Regions from separate parts of the Homo sapiens genome. Here all the other regions are linked to region 3. The links are contacts of gene promoters, found by promoter capture Hi-C in human tissues and cell types (Jung and others, 2019). All regions are on one chromosome and are shown on one strand. Each heading gives the region's core, a stretch centred on a gene start or on the middle of the fragment in contact. The rest is flanking DNA. Distances are from core to core; before and after follow the strand shown.

Region 1 (3,578 bases), core at 347-2,846, 98 kb after region 3:
TTCCTCCACAGTCAATTATAGACGCGTAGCCTTATATTCTAAGTAATAATAGAATATAAGGTTCTATCCATATTTTAAATAATTTATTTATATTCTAAGTAATAGAATATAAGCTTCTATTTACATTCGAAATAATAAAATTTATTTATACTCTAGGTAATAGAATTTATTAAGGTCCTTTGGATTCTGTTCTTTGGATTCTCGTCTATCTGTAAGGACAATCTAACAGGCTTTACACTAGTGTAGATCTAAGAATGGTAGGAAGTAAACTTTTCTTTGTTTTCTTCTAAATTTTGCTGTATGAACAATTTTCACATCTGAATTGAGAATATGTATTTCACTTATGGGAGTATCAAAAATTTATCTTCTTAGTTTTCAGTTCTCCCAATATTTGTCACTCTAAAATTGTTGTAAACATCTATAAATGTTATAATAATGTAATACAAGTCAACTGTGGTTGTTCAATGAGGAATACAAAGAGGTTTCAAATATGCTTTCTGTTTTAAGGGTGCCTGAAGACTCATGAGAAAATAGAATACACACCTACACACACAAATACAAATGAAAGTAGTGTTACAGATCTTTGCACAGCACTTGGGCAGCTCAGATGTGAGAGAGATATGAGTAAAATGGGGAACTGAAATTTCAATAGTCTACTAGTCAATGGGAAATTGAAATGGAATTTGAGGTTATGAATAGGCACTAACCAAGAGCCTGGAAATATATTTCAGTCAGATGGGGACAAGGTGGGAATGTACATCATATTTGCAAAGCTACGAGTAGCCTGGTTTAACTGAAGCAGTAGGCTTGGGTGGTGTATATGGGGAATACAGGCTTTGGGGCTAATTTTGGGCCAAATCACGTCAGCTCTTGAAGACAAACATGAGGAGCATGAATTTTATTCATTTTTCTAAGGATAAAAGGGGACACAAAAATTGGCCTTTTAGAAAGATAAATTTGAGAGAATTATGTGACAGGGATTACAGAAAACAAACTGAAGGGAGATAATTAAACTGGGGGAAAGTTACAGTTACCCAGGCAGGCAGGGATGTTGAGTTGAACAAGACAAAGTGGCAGGCTGTGTGAATTGTAGAACATTATTGTATTGACAAAGAATTTAATGGAATGTGTTTATGTGGTTCCTGGTGGTTTTTATTATATTCTCTTCACTGCCTTGCCTTAATTGAGATCTGTCTTCTCATTGTTAATTCTGAAACTCTTATGACTCTGCCACATTAAGAATTTTTATTTTATTAGTTGTACAAGTACTAGTAGTAATAGTAGTAGTAGCTATCCTTTCATGATAACTTTTGTTGATGACTTCCTATGTGCCATGCTCTATCTTAAACAATGTGCATGTATTATTAGGTTGAACTACATAAAATTGCTATTCTTACAGGTCAAAAATGATTGAAGAGCAGCAATTTCATGTGGTTCACTTAATCTTCACAACCACCATATGAGTTAGTTACTATTATTATCCCAATTTTCATGCAAGAAAACTGAAGCATAGAGAGGTTAATATTTGCCTAAGGTTGTAAAACCAGTAAGTGGCACAGCTGGGATTCAAACACAAGCAGTGCTTCTCCAGAGTCCAACTGAACCACCTGCTCTCAGCTTACACTGTACTAAACTCTTTTATCTCATGTAATCTTCCCAGCAAACTTAGGAAGCAGGCACATTCCTGTTTTACAGATAAGAAAAGTGAGGCACAGAAAACTAGTTTGCCTATGGTTACCTACATAAGGAGAAACAGTCATGATTTGAACCTAGCTGTGTCTGATTCCAGAATGGTAACATTCACCCTTTATTCTGTAGCCTGAGAGAGCAGGCAGGATGAGGATTCTCTTGGCTGCCTTTCAATGTTTTCAAGAGATTGTTCTACAAATTCCTTTTCATTATTCCACTTTCCTTTTTAATTTATGGACTTTATCAGCATCCCAAAGTATTCGATATCTGTAATATTTTGAAATTTTCTTGACACTACAGCTTGCTACCATTCTCTGTCTCTCATGTTTACTAAACATTGCTTTTGACCTCACACTTAACATCAGTTTCTTAATCCAATTTGATTTTATAAGTCCGTTTCTTGTTTCACTTCATATGCAAACTATAATGGATGCCATGCTCAGTTATTTCACCTCTATCTTCCTTATCATTTTCCATTTCCTAACCCGAGCAAACTGACACATTTATTTCAGTTTGTCAGTTAATTCCCCAAACCTAGCTCAACCAAATGATCAATTTTCTCTAATTCCGCTCACAAGCAATTTGGATAGAGTTGGAGAAAATTACAGAAGTGGATTAAGTTCAATGTAAATGTGTGATCTAAGTTGGACCCTTGATACTGTAGAGTAATCTTAATTTAAAAAACTAATTTATCTCATTTATTTTTTATTCAAGTTTCCATATACCTGCAGAAGTCATTTTAAACTGTATCTTCTTTTCTCAAATCGTCAATTCTTTTTCTATCTTTTTCATTATCAATTCCTAATTTAACAGAAAAATCTTGCATTCCCTGTCTTACAACCATGCTTGTTCACTTCTTTTCCCAAGTTAATAGTATCTCATCCTACTCAGAACAAAATATTGCTCCCCTTTGTCCCCTCCTTCACAAAGTTAATTCTCCCAGAATTTCACCCCTTTCTGGGAGTTTGAACATTAGGTTATCTTTTATCTTTGGAATCATCATCTCCCACTCATTTGTGATTGAATCTCTTGTTGCTGCTTAAAAAATATACCCAAAGCGGTGTTTGGTTTTCTGTTCCTGTGCTACTTTGATGAGGATGATGGTTTCCAGCTTCATTCATGCCCCTGCAAAGTGGGAGTTGAACAATGAGAACACATGGACACAGGGAGAGCAACATCACACACCGGGGCCTGTCCGGGCATGGGGGGCAAGGGGAGGGACAGCATTAGGACAAAGACCTAATACATGCAGGGCTTACAACCTACATGACAGGTTGATGGGTGCAGCAAACCACCATGGCACATGTATACCTATGTAACAAAACTGCATGTTCGGCACATGTATCCCAGAACTTAAAGTAAAATAAAAAAAAATTATAAAACAAAATGGGAAACAAACAAACAAAAATACCCAAAGCTTCAGCCACTCCTTCCTAAGAAGAAAACAGATCTTTCCTTGATGTGGATTCCCGAAGACTTCTATAGTTACTTAAAGTTACCACCTCTGACTCAGTGCTGGAAAATGGCAGCCTTTTCCTAAACCGCTTGTCTGTCTTATTTCTCCTCACAAAATGCTTCCTAAACTTCTCCACATCTTTCCCAGTTCTCATCACATGCTCTATTTGCCATTTATAGCCTCATCTTGCTCTTTATCTCATGAGCTCAGCATTGTCTCCACTTAAATCTGCTGCCTTTTGCTAAATGCAGACTCAACCCAGTTTAGAGTAGACTTTCTGCTGGAGGATTCTCTAGCCATATGATTGGAATGCAAGTAATTTTTCCTTTCCTGTCTGCCACTCTGACTCCTTTCTTACATACTCTGAAATCTATCTCCAGAGTGGTCTCCCCGTACGACCTACTATAAAATTGTGTTTGATGTTTCAACCTCT
Region 2 (3,331 bases), core at 227-2,726, 74 kb after region 3:
CCATCTTTTTAGGGATGAATTATATCCCTTCTCTGGAAGGCAGAATCAACTGTAGTTTTTCCTTCCAGTTGCCATTGCTCTTTTTGTGATGTATAGGGGCATTTCTCTCCAAGGAAGCCTCTGTGCTGTCTTGTAGGCACATTATTTTTTACCCTCTTCAGTACATTCTCCGCACTGCTGCCAAATCATCTTTTAAAGGGATAATTTCATCATGCTGTTCTTTTGGTTAAGCTATGAGTAACATCTCACTGGTCTCAGGACAAAGTTTCAAATCCCTAACAGATCCGACAGAGCTCTATGAACCCCTGGCCCCCGCCCCACCACCTGCCTTGCACTAGGCTTAACTTGCAGGACTCTCTTTTCTCTACTTTCTCTCAAGGTGCAGAGACTTTTGGCTTCTGGAACAGAGCATGTTCCTTGCTACCACTGGTTCTCTGTGACTGTTATATCTCTGCCTCAAAGATCCTCCCTGCTCATGTAGTGATGTCTTAGTTATGTTCCAGATCTCAGCTTAAGGGTTTCTTAAGTTTGGGGCTTCTATGTGTCTCTGTTGGCATTCTGTACGTCTCCTTCGAACATTCATCAAAATCTTAATTTATTCATTTTGAAAGCAGGGTATCAGGTTGCTGTGGCAACTCCAGGCAGGGTTGCCAAGGATTGTCTGTGTACCTCTACTTAAGGCTTCTATGACAAAGTTTCCCTTTTCTGTTTTGTTTACTGCCTCCCTCCCTCCACTGCCCCTCCAAATTTAGGGTAGCAATGCTTCCCCTCTGTTGACCTATCCACGTTGCTCAAAACTGTCAAGCACTCTTCATCTCCTCTCTATACCTTCATGCTATTCTCTACCTGTTGAGATTCAGATAACATACTCCTAAACTTTTACTATTTTTTTTCTAAGGTCTTAATCATTTGGGTTTTTCTTTTGTCACCGTCTTCTTATCCTCATAATCTCTGCTCCAGCCATTCTCGATTTTTTTTCTTACATCTTCCTATGGGCCATGGTCTATTTCACTCCTAGGGCCTCACACATGCTGTTCCTACAGTCAGAAAGGAGCAACCCACTCTTACACTGCTAAGTCCTCCCTTTATCTACCTAAACTCTGCTTACCCTTCAAGCTTTATTTTACATTTCAATTCCTCTGAGAAGCCTCTCCTCACTTTTTGTCTTTCTTACCCCCAGTCTAGGTAGGTACTTAGGTAGAATAATGGCCCTCAAAGACGTCTACATTCTAATTCCTGGAACCTGTGAATATGTTAGGTTACATGGCCAGGAAGAATTAAGGTTGTATATGGAATTGACATTGTGAATCAGGTGACCCTGAGATGGAGGACGATTCTGGACTATCTAGGTGGGCCCAATGTAATCATAAGGGTCCTTATGGGTGAAATAGGGAGGCAGGACGGTCAGTGTCAGGGAAAATTCCACTGGCCATTGCTGGCTTCGAAGACAGGAAGGGACCACAAGCTAAGGAATGCAAGTGGCCTCTAGAAGCTGAAAAAGACAAGGAAATGGACAGATTCTCCCCTAGAGACTCCAGCAGGAACACAGTCCTACTGAAATGTGATTTTATCCCAGTGGGACTTATGACTTTTGACCTTCAGAACTCTAATATAATAAATTTGTGTTTTTTCTGTTTTTTTTTTTTTCTCAGATTGAGATGCAAAAATTTTTATTGTTCTACATGGCAATTAGTTACAGAAGCAGAAACTATTACTGTATTTTTTTCAGGAGTTTCCATAGTCTACACTTCCCTGTCATGGTTTTTAATCATCCTGTATTATAATTGCCTATTGGTTTATCTGGCCTTTTTATAGACTCTAAAACCCACAGGACAGAACAATCACTGTTTCATTCACTGTCCTTTAGCCAGTGCTAACTACAATGCCTGGAAGGTAGTAGGCTTTCAGTAAGTATTTGCTGAGTAAATTAATGGCAGATCCAGAATTCAAACATGGTATCTTTGATACAGTGCAGTAGCAGTAGCTCTTTGGCTCTGAAGCAGATACTACTTGAGATTTTTTTTTCTCTTGGAAATCTGCCTAAGATCATCTGAAATCAGATATAGCTTAGCCAACTTTAGTTATCTGAGAAAATTTTTCCAAATAACATTGATCCACTGTGTTATGACATCTTGGTTTTCATCTGGACAGAAACACATTATAAATGAATTTATTGGGTCCCCTTAACTTCTTCACGCAGGAGAATGGCGCATTTCTCATTTACCATTAAGATCAGTTACATGTGTTTCCATGGCACATTGTTCAGAAATGGCCAGAGCAGCTGGGTAGTGCAAGGAATGGCTGCCTATGGGTGGAACATTGTGTTTCAGATCCCCAGTTGTTCACTCTTTCTGGGGCAAACAGTCTCATTTGAAGGTTATTTTCTCAGGTGAAATAGACACAGTTTCATCTGTTTTAGCCACTTACACAGAAAGACAGGAATGTCCTAGGATTCCTAGAGCAAATGACATGGCAAAGTGTGTTCAGGGCCTCAGCTAGCCTCACCGCATGTGGAACATTTCTGGTTACTATCTACATAACAAAACGGAATAAATCATAAGGTTTTAATATGATTAAAATCTAGACTTTTTATTCTTTCCTTTTTAGTATTTCTCTCTGATGAACAATTTGATGGTGAATATCAAAAGCTATTGGAATTTAGTACATTATCACTCTTGATGCCTTATATTTTTAAGATCCAGTGAAAGAAAGGAAGAAAAAATACCTCCTAATTGATTCTTTTTTATCTTTGCCAAATACAGTAACTCTTATCAACTAAAATCACTAAGAAATTAAAGCTGATTAGGGAACATTAGGAACGCTGTCAATGGATTTTTAAAAATCAGGGAAAAAGTTTCAGCATTCATTAAGCCCTCAGGGGAGGAAAGATGTATTCTAGCAAATCATAACAATTGAAATGTATTTCTATTATTTTTTTTCTGAAGAAGCTTCAAGCACTTACACTGAATTCCAGAATGCTTCAACTTCCAACTGATAGAGTGTTAAACACTATGAAGAATGTTAGTGTGGGAGACAGAGAAAGAACAGCATTTTTTATTTTTGTACAGTCAACTAGTTGTTTTGCAGAAAATAATTTTGATAATTTTATATGACCTTGAACATTTACACATATTTCATGGGGAGCTTAGAAATAAACATTTTGATATAATATTGGAGTTAAGGTTTAATAAAAGGGGAATTTATTTCCTTCAAAAAGAGCCTAATTACAGAAAATTAGGAGATTCAAAAAGTAGTCAATGGAACAACTTTTGGATCATGGGAAGCTTCACCAGATAGTTCTCTACTTCAGTTTCTGCAAAGATGGTTTTGT
Region 3 (3,323 bases), core at 491-2,990:
TCAACCTAGGTCTATCCAACTTTCGCTTTCATACACGCGCTCTAAAACAACTTATAATAAAAATGGAAGGGAAGACAGATCCAATTTGAAATCCTCCTTGAGAAAAAACAAATCAAAACTAGTTCCTGGGGAAGAAAGCCTCAGCTAGGTCAGGAGGAAACTTACGCATCTTTGATTCCCTTTCCGCTTTGGAGAGGCATTACCCGTTCAAGCCCAGCCAATGCGGCCGGCCAGGATTTACAGCTCTTATCAAGGGTTAGATTTTGCGAAAGATATAAAGAAAGGAGTTTCCTAACACACCGGGTCTTCTCACAGCAACAAGACACCGAAATTAAGCCTTCTATGGTTTGTGTCTGTAGGACTTTTTAGATAAAACTGGCAGCCCCATTAGATAAGAAATGGCTTTTTAGAAGCTTTGGGGGAAGCGCGGGGGTTCTTCGTGGCCTTCCTGTGACTGTCTTTGGGAGACCGTAACAGATGATGGGAACATGTAAGAATGATTGAAGAAGGTTACCGGCGAGTTGCACCTAACAGTCTTCTCTCTCCAAGTAGTTTCTCGAGAGAAAATTATATATTAACGCCTGGGGACGTGAAATAGGTCTTTCACTGTTCTGTAATAAATCCCTCCCTACTCGCGCCCTTAGACTAATGCATTTTTAAAAAATCTCCACAAAGTCATGGAGACTTGTCCTTATAATTACCAAAATACCACAGCTAGTTGCACAAGTTTGCTTAAAAACAAAGGGCAGGAGACCAGCAGTGAGAAGAATTGAACAGTATATAAAAATCTTACAAACTTTAGACTACTGAAAGATCATTTCGCTCTTTGGCTTCGGGTTAGTGAGCTTCAATTCTAGAGTTAAACTGAGAAGCAGACCTCGCGGGTCTGAAAGACAAAAAGTCAGTCCGCGGAGTCAACTTCGGTTTACCGGTGCGTTCCAACCTGATTGTCCCAACAGCAAGAAGCGCCCCTTTCCTCCCACCCAACGTTTTTAGATATCTGAGGTTGGGGGAGACGGAGTAATGGTGTAGCAGTCAGGAAACAGTTCCTCTGGGTTTAATCATCCCATTCCCGATTCTTCTTCCCCTAGCGCGCCGAGCGCAGCCAGTTCTGGAGGAACTAGCCCTCCGGAGCAGCCAAGGCAGGCCAGGCCCCGGGGATGTGCACCACGGCGTGGGGACCAAACCAAGCTGAACGGCCTGCTCCAAGTTCCCCCCTTTTCCTAGAGCCCGGGAGGGACCTCGTCAACAGGTAGACCTACCCACCAGCCACTCGCCACCGGCGGCAGAAAGTGAGCCCCGCGCGCAACGCGGCCAGCCGGACTGCGGGGACCCCAGGAGCGCAGGGCGGAGGAGCAGCGCCACAGGAGGCGAGGGCGCAGGCGGCGCGGCCGGGAAGGAACGCGGGAGGGGACAGAAGGAAGAGGAAGAGGAGGAGAGGGAGGCCAGAGCCAGAACAGCCCGGCAGCCCGAGCTTCGGGGGAGAACGGCCTGAGCCCCGAGCAAGTTGCCTCGGGAGCCCTAATCCTCTCCCGCTGGCTCGCCGAGCGGTCAGTGGCGCTCAGCGGCGGCGAGGCTGAAATATGATAATCAGAACAGCTGCGCCGCGCGCCCTGCAGCCAATGGGCGCGGCGCTCGCCTGACGTCCCCGCGCGCTGCGTCAGACCAATGGCGATGGAGCTGAGTTGGAGCAGAGAAGTTTGAGTAAGAGATAAGGAAGAGAGGTGCCCGAGCCGCGCCGAGTCTGCCGCCGCCGCAGCGCCTCCGCTCCGCCAACTCCGCCGGCTTAAATTGGACTCCTAGATCCGCGAGGGCGCGGCGCAGCCGAGCAGCGGCTCTTTCAGCATTGGCAACCCCAGGGGCCAATATTTCCCACTTAGCCACAGCTCCAGCATCCTCTCTGTGGGCTGTTCACCAACTGTACAACCACCATTTCACTGTGGACATTACTCCCTCTTACAGATATGGGAGACATGGGAGATCCACCAAAAAGTAAGAGGCTATTTTACCTTGTGGGGCTCGGTGTGCTGTTCTTGTGCGGGGTTCTCTCTCAGGCACAGGCTGAGGTGCCAAGGGCTCTTTGGAGTTGGAGTCATTGCCTGGAGAAAGAGAAAAGGTGGCTTTTTCTTGTTGCCGCCACGCCTGCATGCTTACTGTCGGTTCTTATCTTCGGGAAACTGATTGTACCTTGTGTGTGAATTCGCCTGTGTGCCCTCCAAAGCTCTAGCTTTCTGGTGCTAAGCGGTGATTTCCTCCTGGGGAATCCTGAGCTCTCCGAGAAGGTTATTATGTTGCAAAGGTCTGCCTGCACAGTCAATGCCCAGAGATGTGAATTAGCATTAGACTTGCAAAAGAGAACGAGTGACAACTGTATTTATGCCTGCTCTTGCTAACAATATCCAGTCCTGTGTGCTATTTAAGAGCGCGCTTCACGGAAAATATAGACATCCCTGCGTTCACTTAACGCTTCTAGTCAAAACCTTTTCTTTGACTTGACTTATCCATAATCTTTCCCAATGATTATAGCAAAGAGGAAGGGGGGGGGGAGAAATACAAAATGAGCGGGTTTGATTGCGTGCTAGGCGTACAAATGTAGACTATTCCAATCTGCATTTTACATATATTCCACCTCCTTTTAAAAATGAGTCAAGGTTTTGATGGCACATTTCAATTACCATCCCAAAGTGCAATGCTCTAAAAAAAAAAAAAAAGAAAGAAAGAAAGAAAGAAAAAAACCTCCCAGAGTACGCCCTATAAGAGAACGACACTAAAAGTGTGTTTATCTCTGTAGGAAGTAAACGGTTAGTCAATCATGTATTTATTTTCATTTCAGAAAAACGTCTGATTTCCCTATGTGTTGGTTGCGGCAATCAGATTCACGATCAGTATATTCTGAGGGTTTCTCCGGATTTGGAATGGCATGCGGCATGTTTGAAATGTGCGGAGTGTAATCAGTATTTGGACGAGAGCTGTACATGCTTTGTTAGGGATGGGAAAACCTACTGTAAAAGAGATTATATCAGGTATGGCATTTACACTTCTTTCTTAATTTTGTGGGATTTCCCTGAATCTCCCCACTCTTTATGTATTATTTGGTGTGGCTTTGTCTTTTTGTGAAGTTTGCCTCAGTGTAGTCATACAAGCCAAAGTTACCCTGTACATGTGTTAAAAAAATCAAGCTATGCTGTTCATTTCATTCTTTAGTTGAGAAAAACAAAAACCCTTAACAGTGGTATTCATAATTCCGGGGTATTGAGGCTTGTTTAATTACTCTTGGAGTTTATGATGCACAAATTATTTTCCTCTTTCACCCTCCCCCTTAC

What was found. The method cuts DNA at HindIII sites, captures the fragments that hold promoters and counts their contacts. A contact is called where the count stands out against the background at its distance.
Region 1: a contact is called between a fragment that was not itself captured here and the fragment with the promoter of ISL1 in region 3, in 3 of the 25 tissues and cell types used here (H1 embryonic stem cells, adrenal gland and hippocampus).
Region 2: a contact is called between a fragment that was not itself captured here and the fragment with the promoter of ISL1 in region 3, in 5 of the 25 tissues and cell types used here (adrenal gland, heart left ventricle, neural progenitor cells and 2 more).

Annotation. Positions count from the first base shown.
Region 1 is chr5:51,479,427-51,483,004 of GRCh38, forward strand. No RefSeq gene overlaps it. Among named protein-coding and RNA genes, the nearest start is that of ISL1, 98 kb to the left of the region's middle. The HindIII fragment of the contact is 5,002 bases long and covers 1-3,578 here.
Region 2 is chr5:51,456,448-51,459,778 of GRCh38, forward strand. No RefSeq gene overlaps it. Among named protein-coding and RNA genes, the nearest start is that of ISL1, 75 kb to the left of the region's middle. The HindIII fragment of the contact is 3,279 bases long and covers 1-3,116 here.
Region 3 is chr5:51,381,708-51,385,030 of GRCh38, forward strand. ISL1 (ISL LIM homeobox 1) reads left to right here and starts at 1,741. Exons shown (of 6, transcript NM_002202.3): 1 at 1,741-1,992; 2 at 2,834-3,023. The coding sequence starts at 1,965. It overlaps ISL1-DT (ISL1 divergent transcript), which reads right to left and starts at 1,625. Exons shown (of 2, transcript NR_046243.1): 1 at 1,267-1,625. The HindIII fragment of the contact is 8,696 bases long and covers 1-3,323 here.